Linked DNA regions of Homo sapiens: all the other regions are linked to region 3. The links are contacts of gene promoters, found by promoter capture Hi-C in blood cells and fetal thymus (Javierre and others, 2016). All regions are on one chromosome and are shown on one strand. Each heading gives the region's core, a stretch centred on a gene start or on the middle of the fragment in contact. The rest is flanking DNA. Distances are from core to core; before and after follow the strand shown. Region 1 overlaps LMOD3 (leiomodin 3). Region 2 holds the start of PSMD6-AS1 (PSMD6 antisense RNA 1). Region 3 holds the start of LRIG1 (leucine rich repeats and immunoglobulin like domains 1). Region 4 overlaps UBA3 (ubiquitin like modifier activating enzyme 3). Region 5 overlaps EOGT (EGF domain specific O-linked N-acetylglucosamine transferase). Region 6 overlaps TMF1 (TATA element modulatory factor 1). Region 7 overlaps EOGT (EGF domain specific O-linked N-acetylglucosamine transferase).

Region 1 (3,436 bases), core at 197-2,696, 2.6 Mb after region 3:
TCATCTTTTCTTCTTGTATATCTAAGATAAAAACCCTCTTACTGTGCATTTTGAAATTCCTGACTTTAATAATACTGTGGCTATACAAACAAATGCATAGGGGCTTTCTAGAATTTTTTTTTTTTTTTTGAGATGAGGTTTCGCTCTTGTTGCCCAGGCTGGAGTGCAATGGTGCAATCTCAGCTCACTGCAACCTCCACCTCCCATGTTCAGGTGATTCTCCTGCCTCCCAAGTAGCTGGGATTACAGGCATGAGCTACCATGCCTGGCTAATTTTGTATTTTTTTTTTTTTTTTTTTTTTTTTTTAGTAGAAATGGGGTTTCACCATGTTGGTCAGGCTGGTCTTGAACTCCTGACCTCATGTGATTCACCCACCTCGGCCGCCTACAGTGCTGGGATTACAGGCATGAGCCACCGCACCGGCCTAGAATTTCAACTACTAATTTACATTAAGCTTTTAATTATGTTTAAAGTGCTTTTCCTATCAGAGTTTAGCCTCTTAGATGTAGTATGTGCTAGACACTTGAAGTTTTGTTTGTTACAGCCCTTTCTTAGCTATCCTGCTTTGTATGCAAGGATGTTTTCTAGAAATATTGAAGGGTGAGAAAACAAAACTATCAGCCATTGAAAACTATATTTAAATTTGGATACTTTTGTACATACTAAATTATCTTAAAAAAATAGAAACGCCATATTTCTTTCCCATGGCTTGTCTTTCCAAATAATGTGTTGTTTTTAAGTCTGTCACAATTAGACCTATTCTCCCCTAGCCTGTTTGGTTTGATACATGCCACTTATGATAACATAAAAGGAGAAAGAAGGCAGGTGCCAATTATTTACTCAGGTAAAGAAGAGAGAAAAGGCACCAAAGGTTTTTTTTTTTTTTTTTTTTTTTTTTTTTTTTTTTTTTTTTGAGATGGAGTATCACTCTGTCACCCAGGCTGGAGTACAGTGACGTGATCTTGTCTCACTGCAACCTCTGCCTCCCCAGTTCAAGCAATTCTCCTGCCTCAGCCTCCCGAGTAGCTGGGATTACAGGTGCCTGCCATCATGCCCAGCTAATTTTTGTATTTTTAATAGAGACGGGGTTTCACCATGTTGGCCAGGCTGGTCTCGAACTCCTGACCTCTGGAGATCCTCCCTCCCTGGCCTCCCATAGTGCTGGGATTACAGGCATGAGCCACCGCACCTGGCCCAAAGCTTGATTTTCTAATTTCTAGGGTTCACACTACTTCTATTATTACAAAAATCTCAAATTCTATGCACCTAGTGGCTAGAATGAATAATTAAGGCCTCTAGGAACTTGGAAGAAGGACAGATTGGAGTTGTCTGGAAAATTTTTTATGGAGGACACAGGATCTGACCCGGGAGTTGAAGACTGGGTAGGACGTTCATTAATGGAGAACAGGAGGGAAGTCTCTTGGAAGGATTAATGCGAGCAAAGGCACAAGGGTGTGCACAAGGATGTTTCATCGAGTAGAGTATAAAGGATTTGTGGGAAATAAGACAGGATTAGTAAATTGGGGCCAGGCAATGGAGTGCCTTAAAGAATAGGATAAGTAGTTCAAGTTTAATCCTTCCTGTAAGCAAGTTTCCTTTAAAATATGTTTGAGAGTGATAAAATCAAATTAGACTTACAGAGTAAACACATATGAGCGTGTGTGTGTGTGTGTGTATTTAGCCAAAACCAAAAGCTTGTCAATAACTATATTATGTAAAACTTCTTTTCTATAAAAACAGCATGCTGTCTCCCATTGTCCCTCTATATATGAAAACTTGCTGCCAGGAAGTTTTCATATATGCAGGGTTTACTTTCCCATTACTTTTCCTAGTGACACTTAGTTTTCACCATGTTCTGTGGCTTACGTGTTCTGCCCCTCACAGGTACCCCTATAGAAAGAATACTCCAAAACACCAAGGGAGTCACCAAGAGAGAAAGCCAGGCAGGGTGGGAAACTGAAAATCTCCACTGATTCTGCAGAGAAGCTCTAAGGAACAATCCTTCCATTTCAAAGCATCAGAAGGGCCAGGAGCTCAATTCATCCTTCACATTTCCATAGGATGAAACATTATTTGTTCCCTTTAAGATACTATGTGATGAATTACCGCAGAAGAGATGGAAGGAGAAAAAAATGGGAATACAATAGTTAACACTTCTGTTATATTTATTATTTACCAGAAGAAAACAATAATAAAGCAAATGTTTAAAAAATTTTCTTTAACTTCTGCTTCGGGAAATATGACTCTAAATTTCACCTGAGTCACTCAAATTGATTGCAAGTAGAAAATATTGCCTCTAAATATTATATTTTATCTCCTTCCACCTTCCTCTTCAGCCCCTACTTCTTCATGGCCCAAACATTCTGCCTTTTACAAATACCCTTATCAGATGGTAGCATTGTTTCCAGTTCTGCCACGTGGATCCTAAAGTATTGCTGCTGACATAGTCTCCATGCTGTAATCCAAGAGTCACTATTTCCATTTCTTGTTCTTCTAGATGGCTCTGTTGCCTCTTACGCCAGTTCTTTTGGCAGTTGCACCTGCGATTTAAGCATTTGAGGAAACGGGGGAAATTAATCCTGGAAATTTAAGAGCTTTGCAGCAAAATTTACAAAATTTACATGCCTTAAAAGATACAGAATAGGTTTGAAATTCTGGCCAAAGCACCTCCAAAATCAAGATAAAACAACAATCATAACCACAGCCACCATTTATTAGACATTTACTAATGCCAGGGACTGTTCCAAGAGCTTTGAGCACATGGCAAAGTAACATCATGGAAATAAGAGGGCGGGTGCCTAAGTTGGCCTGGGTTCAAAGACTGGCACTAGCATGTAGTAGTTATGTGGTGTTGGGCATCAGTTTTCTCAGCTGTAAAATGATAATAACAGTATCTAATTCACAAGGCTATTATACAAGTGAGTAATCCATGTTAACACTTTTTTTTTTTTTTTTTTTTTTTTTGAGATGGAGTCTCAGTCTATCTTCCAGGCTGGAGTGCAGTGACACCATCTTGGCTCACTGCAACCTCCAACTCCCGGGTTCAAGCGATTCTCCTGCCTCAGCCTCCCAAGTAGCTTGGATTACAGGCATGTGCCACCAATGCCCAGCTAATTTTTGTATTTTTAGTAGAGACAGGGTTTCACCATGTTGGCCTGGCTGGTCTCAAACTCCTGGCCTCAAGTGATTCACTTGCTTCGGACTCTCAAAGTGCTGAGATTACAGGCATGAGCACCCGGCCTAACACTTATTTTTAAAACAGTATCTCATTACATCCTACAAAAGCCTTGTAGGGAGAGAAATGGCTCAGAGAAGACAATAACTTGCCTAAGATCATACAGCTAGGAAGTGGCAGAGCAGGATTTGAACCAGGTCTGCCTGATTTCAGTGCTCATTATTATACACTGCCTGTAAAAATATCACTATAAGAATATA
Region 2 (3,762 bases), core at 836-3,335, 2.5 Mb before region 3:
CAGAAGACGGCCTATACCCTGTATCTCTATCTATCTATCTATCTATCTGTCTGTCTATCTGGTTTTATACTTCTTATAGCACTTATTCCTATCTGACACACTGAATAAAACTGATAAAACTAATAAACTGTTTCAAACAAACAGAGGAACAACTTTGTTTTCCTCACTGCTATTATTACTATGGTCCTACTTTTGGAAAAAAGATTCAGTTTGCTAATAAATACTTACATATAAGGTTTTAGAAAACTGAGATCAGCCTTGGTAGATTCTGTAATCCAGGTTATGTCAGCTTCCTAAAAAAGAGTAACTTCCTGCCTTATATGGTTACTTGTTTCTGAGGGAAAGCTTATTACACATTTTCTTTATCTTCTATCTTTTGTATACTAAAAGTGGGAGACACTGTTTGTTTAATTTTAGGCCACTACTCTTCTTTCTAAAATCGGGAAGCTTACAGGTAAGAGATTTAAAGGTAAGCGATAATGGGCTGTGTCAACATCCGTATTTTACTGACGTATTTTACTGATGAGGCAGTCAGGAGCTGAACCTAGCTGAACCCAGCTGCAACCTTACCCTATAAACCAGATTTTCATTAATGAATAATTCAAGTGACATTATTTTAACATAAGTGGACCCGATTCTAGAAGGCCTATGTGTTTAAGAAAAAAATAAATGGAAAGAAACAACAATGCAGTATTTATTTTATACAGCTGACCTGGGCACATTGTGAAGTAAGCTATAAAAATTCCAAATAATTATCTCTAAAGCAAATCCTTTGTTAGTTACATGGCTTTACATATTAATTACTCTGGAAAGTTTTTGAACTCTGTTTAGTAGCAGATCTCCTTTCTTGATAGTTTCTTGGTACTGCCAGTTCTTGCTATCAGGTCTATAAATAAATTCAAGAAAAAATGAATTATTTACCAGTCACATTATTCCATGACAATAGTTGACCTACTTTTAAAATTTAGGAATGCCCCTTATTCTGAGAAATGAGAGTACCTGTTGGTTTCTACTATTTCATTCACTTTATCTATTTTGCAGTGTAGTCTCCCGGCAGCAATAAACCTGGACAGTTCCCTAATTTAGAGACAAAAAATAACAGAATTAGCTTTATAGAAAATTCTTAGAAAAATGCAAACGGCATTAAAATACTGTCTTAAATTTGTAACAAACATTTAGCTTCCCTTCAAGCTTGTTATTGCACATGCAGTAGTTGACGTTGTCCCTCCTATACTGCAGGCTTTAAGTCATCATCTACTAGAATAAACATGATCCTAGAAGTTCATATTCAGATAGATAGAAAGTAGATCAAACAATGAAACCATATGTACTCAGAGAAAAACTGTAGGTTAGGAAAAATTAGGGACCAAAACTGATAAAAACAGTAAACTGTTTCAAACAAAAGACCTAAAACAAAATTATGGAACACAGCCCATCAGTAAACATGTCAACAGCAATAGTATTAACATGTCAACAGCAATAGTATTTACTAAAACAACGACCCTTTCCCTCTCTAACATATCTTAGTCTAAACAAGTGGAAGGGAAGGGGAGAAATGATGTAGAATTATTGCTTTGCCCATTTTAAAAAAGGGGATTTCATCTAAAATGTAACTTTTTAAGGGAGAAAAAAAGAATAAAGAATCCATGACAACCCAGATTTGAAATTCTTAGGTATCACAGAAATTTAAAACAAGGCCTTTTTAGGTAACAACAACTAGAGCTCAGTGGTACAACCTTTGCCTCTCAAGCTGGTCTTAGAACATGAAGGGAAAAAAAAAAAACTGAACAAATACTACCTGAATTCAACTACTACCTGAAAGGTACCAGCTGCCTTGCATTCACTTGTCATCAAGATGACTTAAGGAATACTGCGGTGTGTGCCCCTAACTAATGAAGGCTTTATCTCCACATTACAGTTACGATACTGAAGAGACGTAACCTGACCAAGGCCACAGAGCTGGAAAAAGAAGCAAAGCCAAGCCGTTTTTCTCATGCACTGCTCACAACAAGCCCCTCCTTCCACTGACTCATGAAAAACACACTCATAATGCCCAGCCCGCACCCTAATGAACAGCCCTCTTAAGAGTGGTCATCAGACTTCAATTTCACAGACTAGAATTGAGAAATGGAACAAAACCTTGGGATACCAGCCTTCCATTTTGGTAGGGATCATTTAAAAAATGGTAGGGATCATTTAAAAAATGTGTTGGTGTCTGAAACTTACTTTGAAGTGGTTAAAAAACATAAAATGTATAGATTGTAACAAGCAAATATGTTAAAATGTACTGTACAATTCTTTCTTTACAATTTTATGGATGTTCGAAATTTAAAAAATACTAGAAAGAGAATGGTCTTATTTAAAAGAAATGCATCTTCATTTAAAGTTTCCACTGCAGACCATTGAAAACACCATCATCAACATTTAAAAACACCTACATGTGGGAGCCACTGATCTAGATGCCATCTGGACATCCCATATTGAGTATGTCTCCTACCCAACTCTACTCTCACCACCCTCGTCCACGCCACGGTAACATCTCCTCTAAGAGCTACTAAACAGCACAACTGGTCCTCTCTGCCACCTTACTCTATTTCTTATATAAAGACACTGCATAGGACCATGTAACTTGGGCTCTAAATCTTCCAATGGCTCCCTATCAAACTTACTTAAAACTCAAGCTCCATCCCATGACCTACAAGGCCCTACACAAATCATTACCTACCTAACTCTCCATATATTATCCTCAAAATCTCCTACCACTCCAACTATGCTGGAGCCACCCTGACATTTTCTGTTCCTACAACATCCAAGCTTATTCCTGGCTCAAAGCCTTAGCCTTTTCTATTCCCTTTTCTGCACGCAGAAGGACTCCATATGGCTGACTCCTCTCAATTCAAATCTCAGAGCAAACCTCACCTCCTTAAGCATGCCGTACGTAAGGATAGCATTTTCTCATCTCCATAGGTTCATTTCTATATGTGAAATTACGTTTTATATTTATTTGCTTCCTTGCCATCTCTTCCCTACTACTACAATGAAAGTGTGAAAAGGGAGCTGTAAAACAATACCAAACATATAGTAATGAATGGCTCATTAAGTATTTATTTGTTTAATCACTGATGCAAGTACTAAAAGTCCCACATTTAACAACCAATCTGACCAGAATTGCAGCAGCAACCTAAAAACTGGAAGGAATTATCAGAGGGAATATGACCAACTGTAAATATCAGATCTAAGAGTCATTACCGTAGCTGCAGTGTGGTCTACAAAGAAGTAACAGAAGACAACTTTTGATAACAACTGGTCTAATGACCTTTAACAAATCACTTAGCCTCACTACAACTCATCTTCCCATCTGTTAATGCAAGGGGCAGACATGACATGAGGAAGGCAGAGGCAACAGGATACGAATGTTTTGATAATACTGAGGAAAAAAACCTCTCCCCTCCCCGTTAAGATTGAGGGAACCAATGTAAACAAGTAAAAAATTGTACAAGTTCACATATTTTAAAAGGCAACTTTAAAACTTCAATTAACATGGCATTATTCAAACTTACTGATCAATGAATTCCACACCAACACCAAACGCTTCTGCCATATAGCCAAGGGTTAATGACCTATATGATTCCAGCAGCTGACTGTATGCATGAATTCTCATTTCTCTTACATAGTATCGATAATGAGGGGCAAAAAGCCAGTCCTTTTTCATTTCCTGTTCCACAACCGCTGCAATGAATAAAATGACAAATTATAATAGAC
Region 3 (3,374 bases), core at 555-3,054:
GCCTTTTTTTTCCTGTCAAATCTCCTGTAAGAAGTGTCCCACTAAGTCCTAATAAGCCCACATCCTGACAGCACAGAAAAGAACCTCTTTCGGGTGAAACAAACAGCTTAAATCAGCCAAGCCCCTGGCACCCTCTCCTGAAGCAGCACTTCTCCAAAACTCATTTGCACCATTTATGGAGGAGAGAGTCTTGAGGGTGGGCCCCACCCCACTGGATCATCAAGCCCAATGGGGCCCCAGGGAACACACAGGAAGGGTCTGGAACACAGTTCCGTAAAATGCCAAACAGGCGTAAAAGGACAAACTCCCAGCACTCACAGGTCGCCAGGAACTGTCAAAGCCCTCTAACTCAGGGGTCCTCGGGGGAAGACTGCCTTCTGCCCCGCACAGAGAGGCAAGTCAGGCCACCACGGTCTTCGGGGATCAGGAGACGGCTACACACACTATCAACTAATAAATAATGTAAACGAAAGACTGGACCCAACAGTCACCTTCATTCATTACCCACTGGAAGACCAAGGAGCTCAGACACCAAATAGTTGGATTACAGGAGAGGAAAAGGAAACGCACCCACATACCCCCACAGACTTCTTCACACTCTTCTCCAGACGTTTCCCACCCACCCACCCGCAAACACACTCAGCTCCAGACTCCCACTCACTCACCCCCAGATGGCCCGCACGACGCGTGCTGGCTAACCCCCAAATCTCTACGACCCACGCTCGCTCGTCTCCAGACCCCACGAGGCACGCTCTTCTTCTCCAGGCTCTCTCGCACGCCTACTCCCCCGGACCTCCACGCAGAATCTCCCTTCCGCCACTCCAACCTGACAGTCTTCCAACACGCACAAGCACGCACAACTCCACACACACAACCCAGTCCGCACCCCCTCCCTGAGTACGAACCCCCGCCGCTCCATCCCCAAGTGACAGAGCCCCGGGGCGCAGAGAGGGCGGAAAGGGCGGCACTCACAGGCTCCGCGTCCAGGAGGGCAGGTCCCCGGGCAACGCAGCCAGCCCGCGCCCACCGCAGTCCAGCGAGTCCCCAGCGCAAGTGCAGGCGGCCGCGCAGGGCGCCCGCGGGCCGGCCGCGGCGGTCACCGGCTCCAGCCGAAGCAAAAGCAGCCAGAGAAGGAGAAGGCAAGGCGAGCGGCGCGGGGCCCCGAGCCCTCCCCGGACCGGCCGCGCCATCTTGTCTGGAGCGCGCTGCGAACTCCGGGCGCGGGGACTGTGAGGACCCGAACGGCCGCAGACGCGGGCGGGCCCGCGGGGCGCTCCGCTCGGCTCTAGACTCCGCACCGGGGCATGGCCCCCGCCCCAAGTTCTCTCTGCGGCCGCGGCTCCGGCACTCAGCGTGCCCCCGGTGCCCGGGCCGCTCCGGAGCACCCGGCGGGGGCCGCAAACCCCGCGCCCATCCGGGCCGGCCGGCCCGCCCGCGCTAGCTGCGAACTCCGCCGATTCGGGCAAGGTGTACCCAGCCTGCGCTCTTCGTCCGCCCGGGGCACGCCGAGTGCCGCTACCGACACCGGCCGAGGGCAGTGCTGCCGCTGCGCCTGGAAGACAGGCGTTCAGCCCCGCAGCCCGAGCTCGGTGCCGGCAGGCATCTTCCTCTGGGCTCGGAGCGCAAAGCCGTAGACCTCGGGCTGGACGGCGCGGCCGGCCCCGCGCTGGGAGGCCCCAGTGCGCCTCGCTGTCCCCACGCCGCGGCCAGAGAGCGCGCGCGCGCGCGCAGCCTCGGGTTCCGCACGGCTCCTCCGCGCAGCAAGAGTCCCGCCGACCTCGCAGCCGAACAATCAGCCGCTTGCTGTTCGCCTCCCCGCGGCCCAGCCCCGGCCGGTCCCCCAAGCCCCGCCCCCGGCCGCTCGCCCGCACACACCCCCTAGGCTCCGCGCTCCGCGGCCGCCTGCTGGCCCACGTTGGATGCTTTGCAACAGCGCCCCGCCACGCCTCCCCGCCTGCTGCTCATTGGCTGCCGGAGTCCACCGTGGCCAGCCTCGAGGGCCATTGGAGCGCTCGCTGTGATCCCGCCCCTCCCGCTTCACCGGCTACCCCGCCCCCACACTCTTTTCCCACCCAAGGTGTGAAGGGCGGGAGACTGGGAGGAGAAAGGGAGGGACGGCCCCCGCCTCTTAAAGGAGACACGCAGGTTGTTGTTGGAGAACGGGAACGCGGGCTGGGGAAAGGAGGCGTGAAGATACGCCCTCTGCGTCAAGAAGGGGAGAGAAAGTTAAGAGGGTAAAACGCCCCCGTTTTGGGGCTGTCTGGCCCCAAGGCTTTTTACGTCCTCCTCAGGCTGCAAGCAGGACTGCAGATTAGAAGCAAACCCGCGTCCGTTTTCCAGGTTCCTTCCAAAAGCGAAGACACAGGTTTAAAACTTAACACATTTCTTCCTGACTGGGACATCCTTGGTTATTTCATTAGGCGTGGTCCCCTTCCTCCTCGAGCAGCCTGGAGCATCTGCTCCTGACTTGTTCTTCACGTCCTAAATCCAGCAATATGTCCTTGATTACTAAAATGAATGTGTGCTGCAGAAACCTAGTCTCAAAGGTGCACCCTCGGCCAGGAGTGGTGGCTCACGCCTGTAATCCCAGCAGTTTGGCAGGCCAAGGCGGGCGGATCACCTGAGGTCAGGAATTCGAGACCAGCCTGGCCAACATGGTAAAACCCCGTCTGTACTAAAAATGAAAAATAAAAAAATTAGCCAGGTGTGGTGGTGCACACCTGTAATACCAGCTACGGGAGGCTGGGACAGGAGAGCTGCTTGAACCCCGGAGGCGGAGGCTGCAATGAGCAGAGACTTGTCACTGAATTGTCACTGAATTCCAGCCTGGGTGACAGAGCGAAACTCCGTCTCAAAAAAAAAAAAAAGTGCACTCTCCTTCCCAGCTAGTGAGTTGAAGGGTACTTCTAGAAATGCTGCAGCCTTTGATAAAGGGGTTGCTTTGTTGTTGTCATTGGGTTTTTGTTTTAATCAGAGTCTTTTTAAGATAATTTTCAAGAAGCCATTGTGTATTCGTAAGAGACAGAGTTAAAGGAGAAATAATAGTTAACAAAGCTTCTAACTTTTGCTCTTAAAGATCAGACCATAGTAGTAGTGTGTTACGATAGTACGTGGTAACATTAAGCAGACATACACACATTGAGAAAAAAAGAAAAAGATTACCACTGTAACATATAGCTGCCCTCTGGGCGTTTTGGTTTGCTAGTGTCTCATATCCCTTCCCAAGAGTATGCAAATTACTAACATAACTGCGCACATTGTCAGGAAGATTAAGCAGGTCAAGTCTGTTGAAAAACATTTGCTCCAGAACATTAAATCTGAGTTGTGTTTTATGGAAGTGGGGTGGGGTGGGAGGTAAAGAGGAGAAGTTGAAC
Region 4 (3,765 bases), core at 827-3,326, 2.6 Mb after region 3:
GGAGTATTAAAGCTCTAAGGTACAGAAGAACTTGGTGTGTTCAAGGAACACAAAGCAGGTCCGTGTAGGGAGAATGCAGAGGGCAACAAGGAGTAAGTATAAATGGAATTTTAAAATGACATTACTAGATCAGTAAATGTAAGGAAATAATCACAGGAGAGAAATGGCAGATTTTCAAAAAGAAGACAAAGCTCATTCTGGTGAACCTGGTAATGATCTTGGGCAAAATTCTAAAAAAGGAAACTATAACTAGATTGGAAACATTGATCACTATGATTGAGCATGACTGGTTACTAGACAAATCATGTTGGAGTAGCCTCATTTGGCTACTATGACTAACTTAGCAACTCAGGAAAATGCAAAAGATAGCATACCTAGGCTTCAGTAGAGGATCTGGAAAGGTTTTTCATGACATCCTTGTGAACAAGATAAAGAAATACAAAGTACCAAGAAGGTCTGATGAACAGAATGAGATAAACCTAAAAGGGCCTGGCCAGAAGTATGATTCAGATGTCTGTTCTCAGAGAGTTCAGTCTTATTAAAAATTTTCATCAATTATTTGAAAAAGAAATAAAGGATATAATTATCAAAACAGGTGAAATGAAGCTAGAAACACCAGGTAAGTTGGCAGAATACATATAAAGAGAGAAAAACAGGTTGAATTTTAAGAATACATTTGTAAGGACCTATACTTGGATATTAAGAAAAACAAAAAAAAAAAGACACTCCCCAAACTGCCAAGTTTATAATAGGCAGATGTGGCTTAGCAATTGCATATGTGGACAAAACATCCAGCTTTCAGTGGCTAGTAACATCAAAGAATCCAAAGTATAGCATCAATGTAAACAAAAAAACAACAACATAAATACCTGCTCTCCTTTAAGACTGCATCAGTTATCAGAAGTCTATTATCTAAAGTTAAGACCAGTCCCATAATGCTGCATGTTGGCCTGAACAATTAGGAAAAGTTGTTTTCTCTAACTATATTCCAGTTAACCAATATGGATAGCTGGAATATGGTTACAGAAAAACAACATGAGAACCTGAAGCTGTACAACATATCAAAGGGTTGGATATAGTTTGGATATCTGTCCCCTCCAAATCTCATACTGAAATGTGATCCCCAGTGTTGGAGGTGAGGCCTAGTGGGAGGTGTTTGGACCGTTAGGGCAGATCCCACATGCATGGCTTGGTGCCCTCCCTGTGATATTAAGTTCACGCAAGAGCTGGTTATTAAAAGAAGCCTGGTATTCCCTCCTCTCTCTCTTGCTCCCTCTCGTCATATGACATGCCTTGCCATCCCCCTTAGCTTTCACGAGTAAAAGCTTCCTGAGGTCTCACCAGAAGCCAAGCAGATGCTTTTGCCATGCTCACACAGCCTGCAGAACCATGAGCCAAATAAACCTCTTTCCTGAATAAATTACCCAGTTTCAGATATTCCTTTATAGCAAAGCAAAATGAACTAATACAGGGTTAAAGGAACTAACTAGGGAGGTTTATGGCACTGATAAAAATTTGCAAAGGATGTGATCACTGTCCTCAATATGTTAAAAGCTATTACTTAAAAGGGAATTAGACTGTATACAGTACTGGGACAACAGTCAGACCAAACTGAAGACGATTTCTATTTTGAGACGAAGTTTTGCTCTTGTTGCCCAGGCTGGAAAGCAGTGGCGCAATCTCAGGCTCACTGCAACCTCAGCCTCCTGGGTTCAAGTGATTCTCCTGCCTCAGCTTCCTGAGTAGCTGGGATTACAGGCATGTGCCACCACACCCAGCTAATTTTGTATTTTTAGTAGAGACAGGGTGTTGCCATGTTGGTCAGACTGCTCTCGAACTCCTGACCTCAGGTGATCCGCCTGCCTCGGCCTCCCGAAGTGCTAGGATTGCAGGTATAAGCCACCGCAGCTGACCTGAAGACAATTTCTGTTCAATATATAGAATATTTGTCTAACAGTCCTGTCCAAATGTGAAATAGACTGTCTCTAAGAGATGATGAATTCAGTGGAAGATAAAATGGACAGTTTGACTTGGATGACTTATAGCCTAAGTAAGTAAGATTCAATAATTTTATTAAATTCCCCCTAGCTAATAAGTAGTATGAATTACATGGTACCTTTACTGAACTTCAAGTGGATGGTACTGTCTAAACTCACTTATCGATTATTCTCCTGAAAGCATCCCAGCCCTAAGTCATCCCAACATCATAATTCATGACAATTTGCTGACTTACCTTGAGTGAGCCTATACGTAACACCCCTAATATTATATTGTGATGCTCTCTCTAGGGATTTTTGGAAAATCCATTGTATATGTTCAGGATCATCTCCATCTAATGGAACCCCTTCTGTTTAAAAAAAAAAAGGGAGAGAGAGAGAGAGAGAAGACAGGAATACGTAATCACAAAACAATGTTTTTAATGAAATTATCCAAAGGAATAATATAGAAAAAATATGTATTTTATGTAATTCTAGATTATTAAATTAGGTTTATTACCTCCAAAAGGCTGCTCCTTAGGCCACTGCAACATCCTTACATACTCAATACAGTGTTCTGGTAGCCTGGGCATAGATGCAATGGTGCACATGGGAAAATTAACCTAAAACCACAGTTTGTCCTTTTCAGTGAATTTTAAACGAATTATTTTAAAATGCAACTTCCAGTTATGATCTAGTTCTTAACAATTTCATACAATTTGTTTCAACTCAAAATATTGTATACCATTAAAAATGCCTCTCAAACTATAATACAGATTAACTGAGTCACTTCACTTAGGCTGCACTGCCTGTAAAGACAGGTTTGCCCTACATTTACAAGGTATAAAATTTAAGCTTTGTTAGACTATGAGAAGAAAAATACTGAACAGATTTTCTCAAATATGAACACCTTGTTATTTTTACCTAATATTTAAGTATAAAGCAAACCAAAACAAAAGCAAGTTCAGAGTTAAGTGAATCCCAAGTGAATACTCATAAAATTGTTTACATTTATTATTCAAAATTTCAAGTGTTCTTTAAAGTGGATATGTAAACCAAAAAGCCCCATCCTTGGAAAGATCATTCTTATCCCTGGTATCTTTATTTCCCTGAAATAAATACAGGTGAAAACCACATAGATTACAGCTTGACATCAATATACAACTTTGTAATTCTACTTGATACCTACTCCCCAAATAAAAAATACAAATAAATTATGAAAGCAGAATAGTATCAAAACAATGTACTCGGTTCATATCTTTCCTCAAATAGAGCAGAATTTCATATTTTATCTTTCTTCTTAGTGTAATTTTTAAAATACGGCCACTTCTAATTAACAATCCTAAATATTAACTAGACTTAATAATTAATCCCTAATTCCATGCCAAGATACTATAAAAGAAATGCAGGTGCTTTTTTGATTACCTGTGGTGGATAAAGTTCCAGCGTGCATTCGATACAAGCAGTCATTCCAGGCAGAATCACCCGGGCATTTCCTTTAAAACCTTCTGTCCCCCCATCTATCAAAGGGACAATGGAGCTTGGATCTAAGACACCATCTTCATAATTTAGAAGAGATATCTAGGAAAACAATTTGAAGGGCTTTAAAGGAGAAGGGGATAAGAATTCAAAAGAAGAAGTATGCTTTCAAGTAATCCTATGAGTCGGTTGTGCTATTGAATACCAATGTATCAAATCAAGGGATTATAATAACAATTTGTGTCTTCACCTGAAAACCAATGACTGGCAATAAACAATGAAGTAAATATACTTAATTAAAAATTAAACT
Region 5 (3,485 bases), core at 215-2,714, 2.5 Mb after region 3:
CTTTGCTATCCCACTGAATAATGATCCTTTATTCAATTTTTTTTGAGCACTTGCTTGGTGCCAGGCACCACGTTAGCAAATGGGTATACAGAGGTGAACAAAACAAGAAAGAGCCTTGCTCTCATGGTGCCTTTAAACCTACTACAACTGTCATAAACAAGCAATCAAATAAACAACTTCAGCTGATGACTGGGCCTGTGAATCAAACCAACTAGGGGCCAGCAAACTTTTCCTGTAAAGGAGAAGCAGTAAATATTTTTGGCTTTGCCAGACATAAGATCTCTGTGGCAACTACACAACAATGCCTCTGTCCAAAAAAGTAGCCATGGTCTATTATAAAAGAATGGATGAGGCTGTGTTCCAATAAAACTTTTTAACTTACAAAAATTATGGAAGGGCTTGATAGGATCCAGTTTAGTGATACCTGAAACTAAATAAAGTAATATGATAGACAACATAGCATGGTGAACATTTAAAGCTTAACCACCTGGATTTGAATCGCAAATCTGCAGCTTCCCAGCTGTAAGACCTGGAACAAGTTACTTAACCTTTCTGCACCTAAGCTTTCCCATCTGTAAAATGGAAATAATAATAAACCTTCATCATAGAGCTGTCATGAGTTAAATGAGTTAGTTATTGGTAAAGTGTTTCGAAAACTATCTGGCACATGCTAAATGCTATGGAAATGTTTATTAAATAAAAGTTTAAAGCCATGTGGGGCAGAGAAGGGGCCTAAATAACATTAAAGCTGAGATCTGAATGATGAGGAGGGGAAAAGTATCTGTGAGAGAGCAAAGGGAGTGGGATGGCTCTGAGCAAGTGTGTGTCTGCTGAATAAAAAATTATAATCATAATCAAGGTATGAGCACAGACAATGTTCCAGGAGCGCTTCTGTACTCAGGATACAGCAATGAAGGTGCAGTCACGAACTAAACTCATTGCCCTTGTGAAGCTTACATGCTAGTAGGTATAATAATCAGCTATAATAGCTAAGACTTAGAAACTCCAGGACACTAAGCAGTCTGCCTCAAAGACTGTGCCCTTAAGCTCTCCCATCATGCCTTTACATTGTGAACAGTGATAATGGTCAGAAACCTCACTGCATTTCTAATTCACCCAGTAAGTGTTAAATCTCTTGGACCAGATTTCTCCTATATATCCCAGACAATGATCCTGCCATTCTCAGGTCACTTTAGTGGGATCTTTGTTCTTTTTTTTTTTTTAAGTGCTCTTTCCACTGGATGACAGAGTCTTAATACACACTGGATGTTCATCAGCTAGGACTGCTGTTTCCTGGGTCATACCGGAAAACCCAACTTTCGAAATCAGTCTTCATTGATTATGGGCTGTGAAGATGGAACCTTTAGAAACAGACTGCAGGCCTGTAATAGTAGCACTTTGGGAGGCCAAGACTGGCAGATTGCTTGAGTCCCTGAGTTCGAGACCAGCTTGGGCAACGTGATGAAACCCGGTCTCTGCTAAGAATACAAAAAATCAGCTGTAGTCCCAGCTGAAGTGGGAGGATCACTTTAGCCTGGGAAGTCAAGGATGCAGTGAGTCGTGATCTCGCCACTGCACTCCAGCCTGGGTAATGCGAGGGAGACTCTGTCTCAAAAAAAAAAAAAAACAAAGAAAGAAAGAAGAAAAGGAAATTGACTGCTATGTTCCATCAAACCTCAAGTTCCAAGGCCATGGAATTCTAAGTGAACAGTGGGGACACCAAAAAGGAATCCTTTTTCCCCCATTTTCCCCCCTTGGAGTAGTTAAGTATTGTGGTTTTTCACTTTGGCGGCCCTCAAGAGTATGGTGTTATCTGCTGTAAATCTGATCTGAATTACAATAACATTTTCACTTGGAGCTTTTATCCAAGAATGAGTTGACAGCAGTTTTATAAAAATTTAAAAACACATATTAATAGTAACAATGACTCTACTTGTAATAAAAATATATACCTCTTGAATCTTCAGAACCACTCAGAAGCTTCTGTGATGTTTCAGGTCTCTAAAACCTGTCAGAAATGAAACATATTACCTTAAAAGGATGCTAAAGTAAACCTGATCATTCAGATGATGTTGTGAATTAAAGGAAATATTAAGAAAGAAAATAATGTAACGTGATAACTCTCAGCCAGAAGGCCTGGCCGGTGGTGCGCTTTCTTTTCCTTAATGAATACCACACTGCTATACTCGAGTTCACAGGCACCACCCCCAACACAGCAACTCGGACCAGATTCCAATGGGGAACGGGAGGAGGTGGCCCACTTTCTACAGGCATCCACTGGAACTGGCCAACAGGATACTTAGTGGATCAAACATTCCCAGAAGCAAACAACTTTCCCATTCTCACAGCAGTAATCCCACTGGCTGAATCACAGGGCTACCCACCTAGAGTGGCGAGCCTGAGGGTTCCCAGGCCTTCCTATTTTTTGACTCGTCCTTCCCGGTAATAAAGTCATTGTTATGACCAAGCCCTGACCTTTGGTTATCCAAGTCCATTGTCCTCCAGTGAGCTCTGGCCATCACTAAACTCACCGATCAGTGGAGAAGTAACGCTTAGGCGATGGAAAAAATCTAAAGACGCAGATCAGAAAGCTGGCGTCTGGCGAGGGCATGTACCCACTTGCATAAGGCGGCTGGGGGTGGCTGCTGGGCCTGGCACAAAGCCTTCCTGGTGTCGGTCGTCCTGCAAGGCCCGCCGGGATGGGTGGCTGCACTCCTCCAGCACACGGACGCTTTACTGGCCAGGCTACTTTTCCTTCAGCTCAAAGCAGCTGGAATCACTCCACTCCAGAAACCCTTGATTCGATTTCCACAGGCCTAATGAGGAAGGAAAAAAGGGAAACATCTGAAAGATGATGGATAGGAGGCAAAACCTGGGGTTGACACAGCGGGCGAAATGGGGCAATGTCGCAGAGAGAGAGAGCTTGGAAAAGTTTAAAGACGGCAGTGGGCAAATGGAAAGTTCAACACGTGAGACCCCGAATGACACCTCAACGGCTGGCCCCTACTTGTGCCAAAAAGTCTCTCGGCGGGTGCCAGGCAGGGCTCAGGAAGTGCTCGGCTGCCCCTTGAACGTCAGTCCCGGCAGAGCCCAGCTGTCCGCTTGAACGTCAGTCCCGGCCAAGGGCTGAGGGGTCAGTGGCGAGCACCCCGCCGCGGCTGAGACGCCGCGCTGGGGTTCCGGACCCCGGGCGCCGCCAGGGATTGCTTCGGGGTCGGTGATCTCCCGGGGCCGCCCGCCACCGTGCACCGCGGCGCCCCGGGTCCCCAGCGCGCCTGGGAGGGGCCCCGGGGAGCGGCTCCGCCCCGGCTGGAAACCTGGTCAACGCGGCTAGGGCCCGGGGCCCGCCTGCGCTCCGGGCGCTGGGAAGGGGCCGGGCGCCCGGGGCCGGGGAGGGCCAGGATCGGCTTCCGACGCCCGCCTCCCGGCCCGCAGGGAATGGGAAGGCGCGGGCGGAGTGCGTGCGTAGGCTATAGCCCTCCGGG
Region 6 (3,727 bases), core at 154-2,653, 2.5 Mb after region 3:
CAATGAATCCCAGTACTATCTTCTTGTTATAATATCCTATTACTTTATTTATTTTTTTTTTTTTGGAGACGGAGTCTCGCTCTGCTGCCCGGGCTGGGGTGCAATGGTGCAATCTCACTGCAACCTCTGCCTCCCAGGTTCAAGCAATTCTCCTGCCTCAGCCTCCCGAGTAGCTGGAATTACAGGCGTCTGCCACCATGCCTGGCTAATTTTTGTATTTTTAGTAGACACAGGGTTTCACCATGTTGGCCAGGCTGGTCTTGAACTCCTAACCTCAGGTGATCCACCTGCCTCAGCCTCCCAAAGTGCTGGATAACAGGCATGAGCCACAGCACCCGGCCATAATATCCTATTACTAATAACCCTAACTTTAAATGCTAAAAGTGATTACATTTAGTTCTTGGTACCCTGAAGCTAAAAGCCAACGACATACTTTGTTTATTTACTTATTTAATTTATTTTTTTTTTTTTGAGACCGAGTCTCACTCTGTCACCCAGGCTGGAGTGCAGTGGTGGGATCTTGGCTCACTGCAACTTCCGCCTCCCGGGTGTAAGCGATTCTCATGCCTCAGCCTCCGAGCTGCTGGGATTACAGGCGCACACCATCACACCTGGCTAATTTTATTTTTAGGAGAGAGTAGGTTTCGCCATGTTGGCCAGGCTGGTCTCCACCTCCTGACCTCAAGTGATCCGCCCGCCTTGGCCTCCCAATGTGCTGGGATTACAGGCGTGAGCCACGGCGCCCGGCCCAACAACATACTTTTAAAAAGTGCTTTAGGATGTCACGGAACTACCAAAAATATCACTCAGAAACCATGCTCACCTATTGTTCTCATCCTCCAGTTTACACAGCCTATTTTTCTCTGATTCTAGCTGGGCTTGAAATCTACTGTTTTCCTGTCTTAAAAGAGAATTCTGTGACTCCATGGAAGACATCTGAATTTTGTTAGCAAGGAGTTCTTCTGTAGCTGCACGTTCTCTCTCAACTGCTGCTGCCAGCAAGGTCTGGGATTCACCTGATTACAGGACAGAAAAAAAAATCACATACACATACAGCCCAGAGACCAAAATACCAAGTCAATTCTGATTTCAAACATTTAATGATGCAAGTAGCCACACTTAAAACTGATAACTATTTATTGCCTAAGGCAGGACTGTCTACTGAGACAAATGAACCAATCTTAACTTATACCTGCTTTATCACTCTTTTCCAAAAGTATTTTAATTTCAAAATGGAGTCATGCATTAAAAGAGTAGTGGATCACCAACACCAAATGGTCCTGGAGCAACTGGACAGCTATATGCAAAAAAACCAAAAAGCCTACACATCACATCATTCACGAAAATTAACTCAAAATGGATCATAGACTTATATGTAAAACATGAAACTATAAAACTTTTAGGAAAAAACAGAGGAGAAAGTCTTCAGGATCTAGAACAAGGCAGATTTGACACAAAAAGCAAGAGCCATAGAAAGAAAAACTGACAAACTGCTTCAAAATTTTCAACTTTTAAATCTATGTGAAGAGGATGAAAAGGCAAACTACAGAGTGAGAGCAAATAAATGCAAACCATATATCTAGGATTAGTATCAGGAATATATAACAATCTAGTTAGAAAATGGGTAAACGACATAGACAGAAATTTCACCATAGAGAATGTACAAATGGAAAATAAGGACATAAAATGATGTTCAATAACATTAGCCATTAGGGAAAAAATACAAATTAAAATCATAATGAGATATCACTACATGCTGTCTGAGTAACTAAAAGAAAAAACAGGGACGACATAAAATGTTGGCAAGGGTGTGAAGAAACCACATTACTCTTACACAGCCACTTTGTAAACAGTTTGGCATTTTCTTAAAAACACTAAACATGACCTGGCAATTGCACACTTGGGCATTTATCTAGAGAAATGAAAACTTAGGTTCACACTAAAACCTGTACATGAATATTCACAGTAGCTTTATCTGTAATAGCCAGAGCTTGGAATCAGCCTGGACGTCCCTTGTGCAGTGAATGGTTAAATATACGTGGTACATACTATGGAATAACACTCAGCAATAAAAAGACTAAACTACCGATACAAAAACAACTGTGTGAACCTCTTCCTGGGAATTACACTGAGTGAAAAAAGCCAAACCCAAAATGTCATACACTGTATAATTTTATTTATGTAACATTTTTGAAATGACAGAATTTTAGAAACAGAGGACAGATTAGTGATTGCCAGAGATTTGGGACAAGGGAGGAAGGGTTGAGAGAGTGGTAGGTGTGTTTCCAAAAGGGTAACATTAAGAGTGATTATTTTCAGCTAAGAAAAAAAGAAAAAAAGCTAACAGGAAGGACTCAATAGTGTTGGAACTGTTCAATATCTTGACTATGGTAATGGATATGTGGTATAGTTGTTTAGAACTTAATACACACACACACACACACATACACAAATGAGTACCAATAAAACTTTGGAAATCTGAATAAAATCAGTAGATTGTATCAATGTCAATACCATGGTTGTGATATTATACATTAATTTTGTAAGATTTTAATACTTGGAGATATTAGGCAATGTGTACAAAGGACCTTTCTATATTATTTCTTATAACTGCACATGAATCTACATTATATCAACAAAAATTTTCAATTGAAAAAAAGAGCAATGGGTAAGATTCTGAGATTTAACCTAGGTAAGAATTCTTGTATTTTTTCTCCACCAAAGTAGAGCTAGTAATACCTCTATTTCACATTTTACACTCTGCTCCACAGCATAGCTATGGTCTTTTTAATAGCATTCCTTGGTATGTTTGTCCTGTGGCTTTGCCTATATGCTAGCACAATACCACATATTGCTGAGGGTATGTAGACTTCAGTCTAAAAACCACAAAAGTACCAGTTTCTAGCATTCATTTATTGCTAAATATTTATTTCAAAAGATATCATTTTCAGATGTCTCATATTTCACAGCACATTGCTCTCAAAAGCTGTCAGAGATAAACGACAGACCTAACATTTATACCTATAAATTTAAATATATATGAAGGTTTATCTAATTCAGTTCATTTTTTTAAGTAAATGAATCTTTTTCTAGACCAAATCTTTCATGGAACTCCAATTAAAAAAAGATAGACAAAGGAGGCCCTATTTTCATTAAAGCAGCTAGAGAAGCCCAGCCTCTTATTTATCAAGCTTCCCTCTCACCATGACAGCAGCCCCAAAGGTATCTAAGAGTCCACTGAATACTATTTGAAAGTCACTAATCTAGTTCACCCCCCCGATTCACAAGGAATAGCACAGAGATAGTTGGAACAATATAAGTGACTTGTTCCACACTGTTTTGCTGGATGATTCAAAACAGAATACCCTGAGTCCATGTCTCCTGACTCATATTTAGGTCTGATTTTATCACTACACTGTGATTTCTCAAATTACATTTAGTGTCAGGCGTAGAAGGCATACATGAATTTTTCATGAATTTGCTAGCTTCTGGGATACCTATAATATACATACACTAGCTGTCTGTGCTTGAAGGGAAACATTTTAGAATAATACTTTTCTTTTTATTAACATCACAGAAGGGCAACCTGGGGCATGACTGTAAAGAAGCAGAATATGGAATCTTTTTTTTTTTTTTTGAGATGCAGTCTCGCTCTGTCACCCAGGCTGGAGTGCTGTAGCGCAATCTCAGCTCACTGCAGCCTCTGCTTCCCAGGTTCAAGGGATTC
Region 7 (3,530 bases), core at 52-2,551, 2.5 Mb after region 3:
GTCCCCACATTTCAAAACAAACCATGCCTTCCCAACAGTCCCCCAAAAGTCTTAACTCATTTCAGCACTAACCCAAAAGTCCACAGTCCAAAGTCTCATCTGAGACAAGGCAAGTCCCTTCCACCTATGAGTCTGTAAAAACAAAAGCAAGCTAGTTCCTTCCTAGATACGATGGGGATACACGTATTGGGTAATTACAGCCGTTCCAAATGGGAGAAATTGGCCAAAACAAAGGGGTTACAGGGCCCATGCAAGTCCGAAATCCTGCATGGCAGTCAAACTTTAAAGCTCCAGAATGATCTCCTTTGACTCCAGGTCTCACATCCAGGTTACACTGAAGCATGAAGTGGGTTCCCACAGTCTTGGGCAGCTCTGCCCCTGTGGTTTTGCAGGGTACAGCCTCCCTTCTGGCTGCTTTCACGGGCTGGCATTGAGTGTCTGCGGCTCTTCCAGGTGCACAGTTCAAGCTGTCAGTGGATCTACCATTCTGGGGTCTGGAGGATGATGGCCCTCTTCTCACAGCTCCACTAGGCAGCACCCCACTAAGGACTCTGTTTGGGGGCTCCAACCCCACATTTCCCTTCCACACTGCCTTAGCAGAGGTTCTTCATGAGAGCCCCGCCCCTGCAGCAAACTTCTGCCAGGGCATCTAGGCATTTCCATACATCTTCTGAAATCTAGGTGGAGGTTCCCAAACCTCAATTCTTGACTTCTGTGCACCGCAGGCTCAACACCACATAGAAGCTGCCAAGGCTTGGGGCTTCCACCCTCTGAAGCCACAGCCTGAGCTGTACATTGGCTCCTTTCAGCCATGGCTGGAGCGGCTAGGACACAAGGCACCAAGTCCCTAGGCTGCATACAGCATGGGGACCCTGGGCTCAGCCCACAAAACCACTTCTTCCTCCTGGGTCTCCAGGCCTGTGATGGGAAGCGGCCGCCATGAAGGTTTCTGACATGCCTTGAAGACATTTTCCTCATGGTCTTGGGAAGTAACATTAGGCTCCTTGCTATTTATGCAAAGTTCTGCAGCTGACTTGAAATTCTCCCCAGAAAGTTGGTTTTTATTTTCTATTGCACAATCAGGCTGCAAATTTTCTGAACTTTGATGCTCTGTTTCCCTTTTAAAACTGAGTGTCTTTCACAGCACCCAAATCACCTTTTGAATACTTTCCTGCTTAGAAATTTCTTCTGCCAAATACCCTAAATCATCTCTCTCAAGTTCAAAGTTCCACAAATCTCTAGGGCACGGCAAAATGCTGCCACTCTCTTTGCTAAAACATAACAAGAGTCACCTTTGCTCCAGTTCCCAACAGGTTCCTCATCTCCATCTGAGACCACCTCAGCCTGAATTTTATTGTCCATATCACTATCAGCATTTTGGGCAAAGCTATTCAACAAGTCTCTAGGAAGTTGCAAACTTTCCCACATTTTCCTGTCGTCTTCTGAGCCCTTCAAACTGTTCCAATCGCTGCTTGCTACCCAGTTCCAAAGTCACCTCCACACTTTCAGGTATCTTTTCAGCAACACCCCACTCTACTGGTACCAATTTACTGTATGAGTCCGTTTTCAGTCTGCTGATAAAGATACACCCGAGACTGGGAAGAAAAAGAGGTTTAACTGGACTTACAGTTCCACATGGCTGGGGAGGCCTCAGAATCATAGTGGGAGGTAAAGGCACTTCTTACATGGTGGCAGCAAGGGAAAATGAGGAAGAAGCAAAAGTGGAAACCCTAGATAAACCCATCAGATCTCATGAGACTTACTCACTATCACAAGAATAACACAGGAAAGACTGGCCCCCAGGATTCAATTACCTCCCCCTGGGTCCCTCCCACAACATGTGGGAATTCTGGGAGATACAATTCAAGCTGAAATTTGGTGGGGACACAGCCAAACCATATCAAGGACCAATCTGGGTACCATAACGAGATCTTGTCTCTACAGAAAATAAATTTAAAAATTAGCCAGATGTCAAATCAGAAGACAGTAATATATATTATATATACGCACACACACATATGTTATGACTATATTGTCATAACACATATATAACACATATATGGAAAAGAATAGCCAGGTATGGTGGCATGCACATGTAGTCCTAGCTACTTGGGAGGCTGAGGCAGGAAGATCACCTGAGCCCAGGAGAGCAAGGCTGCAGTGAGCTAGGATCATATTCCTGGACTTTAGCCTGGGTGACATATTTGCACTTATTAAAATAAAGAGAGTCCTGCAAGGGACTCACACACGTTAAATGCAGTTACCCTTGGGGGAACAGGGAATTGGAGAGGAAGAAGGAGACTTTTTTAAAAACTTCACATACTTCTGTGTTGTTTGAACTCATTATAATCAGGTATTACTTTCATAATTAAAAAAGTAATCATGGCTGGACACGGTGGCTCACATCTGTAATCCCAGCACTTTGGGAGGCCAAGGCAGGCGGATCACCTATGGTCAGGAGTTCGAAACCAGCCTGGTCAACATGGTGAAACCCTGTCTCTACTAAAAATATAAAAATTAGCCAGGTGTGATAGCACACACTGTCATCCCAGATACTGGGGAGGCCGAGGCAGGAGAATCGCTTGAACCTGGGAAGCGGAAGTTGCAGTGAGGCAAGATCGCGACACTGCACTTGAGCCTGGGTGACAAGCAAGACTCTGTCTCAAAAACAAACAGAAAAAAAGTAATCATAAAGCTATACTACTTCTCAGCACAAGCAAATGTGGAAAGCCTGCCGTAATTTCTCCTTTTATTCATTCTGTTTGATAAGAGCAACCCTGCTGTGCCCAGAGAGGCATCTGAAGATGGGTCCCTCTATGCATGTTTGCAGGTTGGTGGCCTTGCCCATCCCACTGAAGATGCCACATGCTGAAGGGAGTAAACTGCAGAGCTTTTCAAGGAGGAGAGGGAAAGGCCCCATAGGCTTCCTTGTGATGACAGGTTGGAAAATATCACCAAGATGTGAACTGCAGTCACAGTTACCTCCCTGCTCTTCCCTGGGCAAACTGCTCATCCAAGACCATCAGGACTCTGGCAACACCATCCACCGGGAGGGATTCATGTCATAGTCAGCCTGCAGGTCACAGTGATGCTTAATTTAAGTCCTTACCAACAAAAGGGAAACAGCAGCCACACAAACCCTTACTTAGCGCCATCCCCATCCAACCTACCCTGTGGACCTGAATTCTGGAGCAATCTGGCAGAATTGCCTGTCCTGAGAACCTGGCTTAGTAAATGGCTTCTTTGACCAAGCGTCCGGGTTTAAAATGGATGCACATGGAGTGGCAAAGGAAGGAGGTAACACCAGGCGGCCACCCTGCTGGGCTACACCCATCCTGCTTAACTGTGCCAGAGCTGAGGTCAGACTGCCCTCATGTCTCATGCTCAGCTGACTGAGTAACCTGGGGTCTTCATGGTGGCCGTGCATCCTACTCCAGCAGCCACAGAGAAGGGGAGGGTTGTAGGAGCTGGCTCACTTACAGTGAGCTAATGTGACTAAGTTATACTAAGCCCATTTGAGGAAGATGTAG

What was found. Contacts are between HindIII fragments. The CHiCAGO score rates a contact against its expected background, and 5 or more counts as called.
Region 1: a fragment that was not itself captured here is called in contact with the fragment with the promoter of LRIG1 in region 3 in 1 of 17 cell types (activated CD4 T cells); the score reaches 5.4 in activated CD4 T cells.
Region 2: the fragment with the promoter of PSMD6-AS1 here is called in contact with the fragment with the promoter of LRIG1 in region 3 in 2 of 17 cell types (naive CD8 T cells and total CD4 T cells); the score reaches 5.3 in naive CD8 T cells.
Region 4: a contact is called between a fragment that was not itself captured here and the fragment with the promoter of LRIG1 in region 3, in 1 of 17 cell types (activated CD4 T cells). The highest score is 5.4, in activated CD4 T cells.
Region 5: a fragment that was not itself captured here is called in contact with the fragment with the promoter of LRIG1 in region 3 in 4 of 17 cell types (activated CD4 T cells, non-activated CD4 T cells, total CD8 T cells and 1 more); the score reaches 13.6 in activated CD4 T cells.
Region 6: a fragment that was not itself captured here is called in contact with the fragment with the promoter of LRIG1 in region 3 in 1 of 17 cell types (activated CD4 T cells); the score reaches 5.6 in activated CD4 T cells.
Region 7: a contact is called between a fragment that was not itself captured here and the fragment with the promoter of LRIG1 in region 3, in 1 of 17 cell types (naive CD8 T cells). The highest score is 6.0, in naive CD8 T cells.

Annotation. Positions count from the first base shown.
Region 1 is chr3:69,106,581-69,110,016 of GRCh38, forward strand. It overlaps LMOD3 (leiomodin 3), which reads right to left. Exons shown (of 3, transcript NM_198271.5): 3 at 1-2,541. The coding sequence ends at 2,515. Among named protein-coding and RNA genes, the nearest start is that of LMOD3, 14 kb to the right of the region's middle. The HindIII fragment of the contact is 494 bases long and covers 1,200-1,693 here.
Region 2 is chr3:64,009,879-64,013,640 of GRCh38, forward strand. PSMD6-AS1 (PSMD6 antisense RNA 1) reads left to right here and starts at 2,086. Exons shown (of 2, transcript NR_189168.1): 1 at 2,086-2,164. PSMD6 (proteasome 26S subunit, non-ATPase 6) reads right to left here. Exons shown (of 8, transcript NM_014814.3): 6 at 3,561-3,729; 7 at 1,000-1,077; 8 at 673-886. The coding sequence ends at 790. PSMD6-AS2 (PSMD6 antisense RNA 2) reads left to right here. Exons shown (of 3, transcript NR_038286.1): 3 at 1,919-2,365. The HindIII fragment of the contact is 1,623 bases long and covers 1,190-2,812 here.
Region 3 is chr3:66,499,218-66,502,591 of GRCh38, forward strand. LRIG1 (leucine rich repeats and immunoglobulin like domains 1) reads right to left here and starts at 1,805. Exons shown (of 19, transcript NM_015541.3): 1 at 973-1,805. The coding sequence starts at 1,190. RefSeq lists enhancers at 901-1,401, 1,402-1,902 and silencers at 1,005-1,214, 1,235-1,314, 1,355-1,494, 1,515-2,174. The HindIII fragment of the contact is 6,273 bases long and covers 1-3,052 here.
Region 4 is chr3:69,059,581-69,063,345 of GRCh38, forward strand. It overlaps UBA3 (ubiquitin like modifier activating enzyme 3), which reads right to left. Exons shown (of 18, transcript NM_003968.4): 9 at 3,402-3,557; 10 at 2,497-2,599; 11 at 2,234-2,347. Among named protein-coding and RNA genes, the nearest start is that of TMF1, 9.1 kb to the left of the region's middle. The HindIII fragment of the contact is 1,506 bases long and covers 1,324-2,829 here.
Region 5 is chr3:69,009,984-69,013,468 of GRCh38, forward strand. It overlaps EOGT (EGF domain specific O-linked N-acetylglucosamine transferase), which reads right to left. Exons shown (of 18, transcript NM_001278689.2): 2 at 2,532-2,816; 3 at 1,953-2,008. It overlaps EOGT-DT (EOGT divergent transcript), which reads left to right and starts at 3,137. Exons shown (of 1, transcript NR_185971.1): 1 at 3,137-3,485. RefSeq lists a silencer at 3,019-3,485. The HindIII fragment of the contact is 1,028 bases long and covers 951-1,978 here.
Region 6 is chr3:69,028,992-69,032,718 of GRCh38, forward strand. TMF1 (TATA element modulatory factor 1) reads right to left here. Exons shown (of 17, transcript NM_007114.3): 11 at 824-1,016. Among named protein-coding and RNA genes, the nearest start is that of EOGT, 17 kb to the left of the region's middle. The HindIII fragment of the contact is 3,571 bases long and covers 1-3,189 here.
Region 7 is chr3:68,992,126-68,995,655 of GRCh38, forward strand. All of the region lies in intron 10 of EOGT (EGF domain specific O-linked N-acetylglucosamine transferase), which reads right to left. Among named protein-coding and RNA genes, the nearest start is that of EOGT-DT, 19 kb to the right of the region's middle. The HindIII fragment of the contact is 4,506 bases long and covers 1-3,530 here.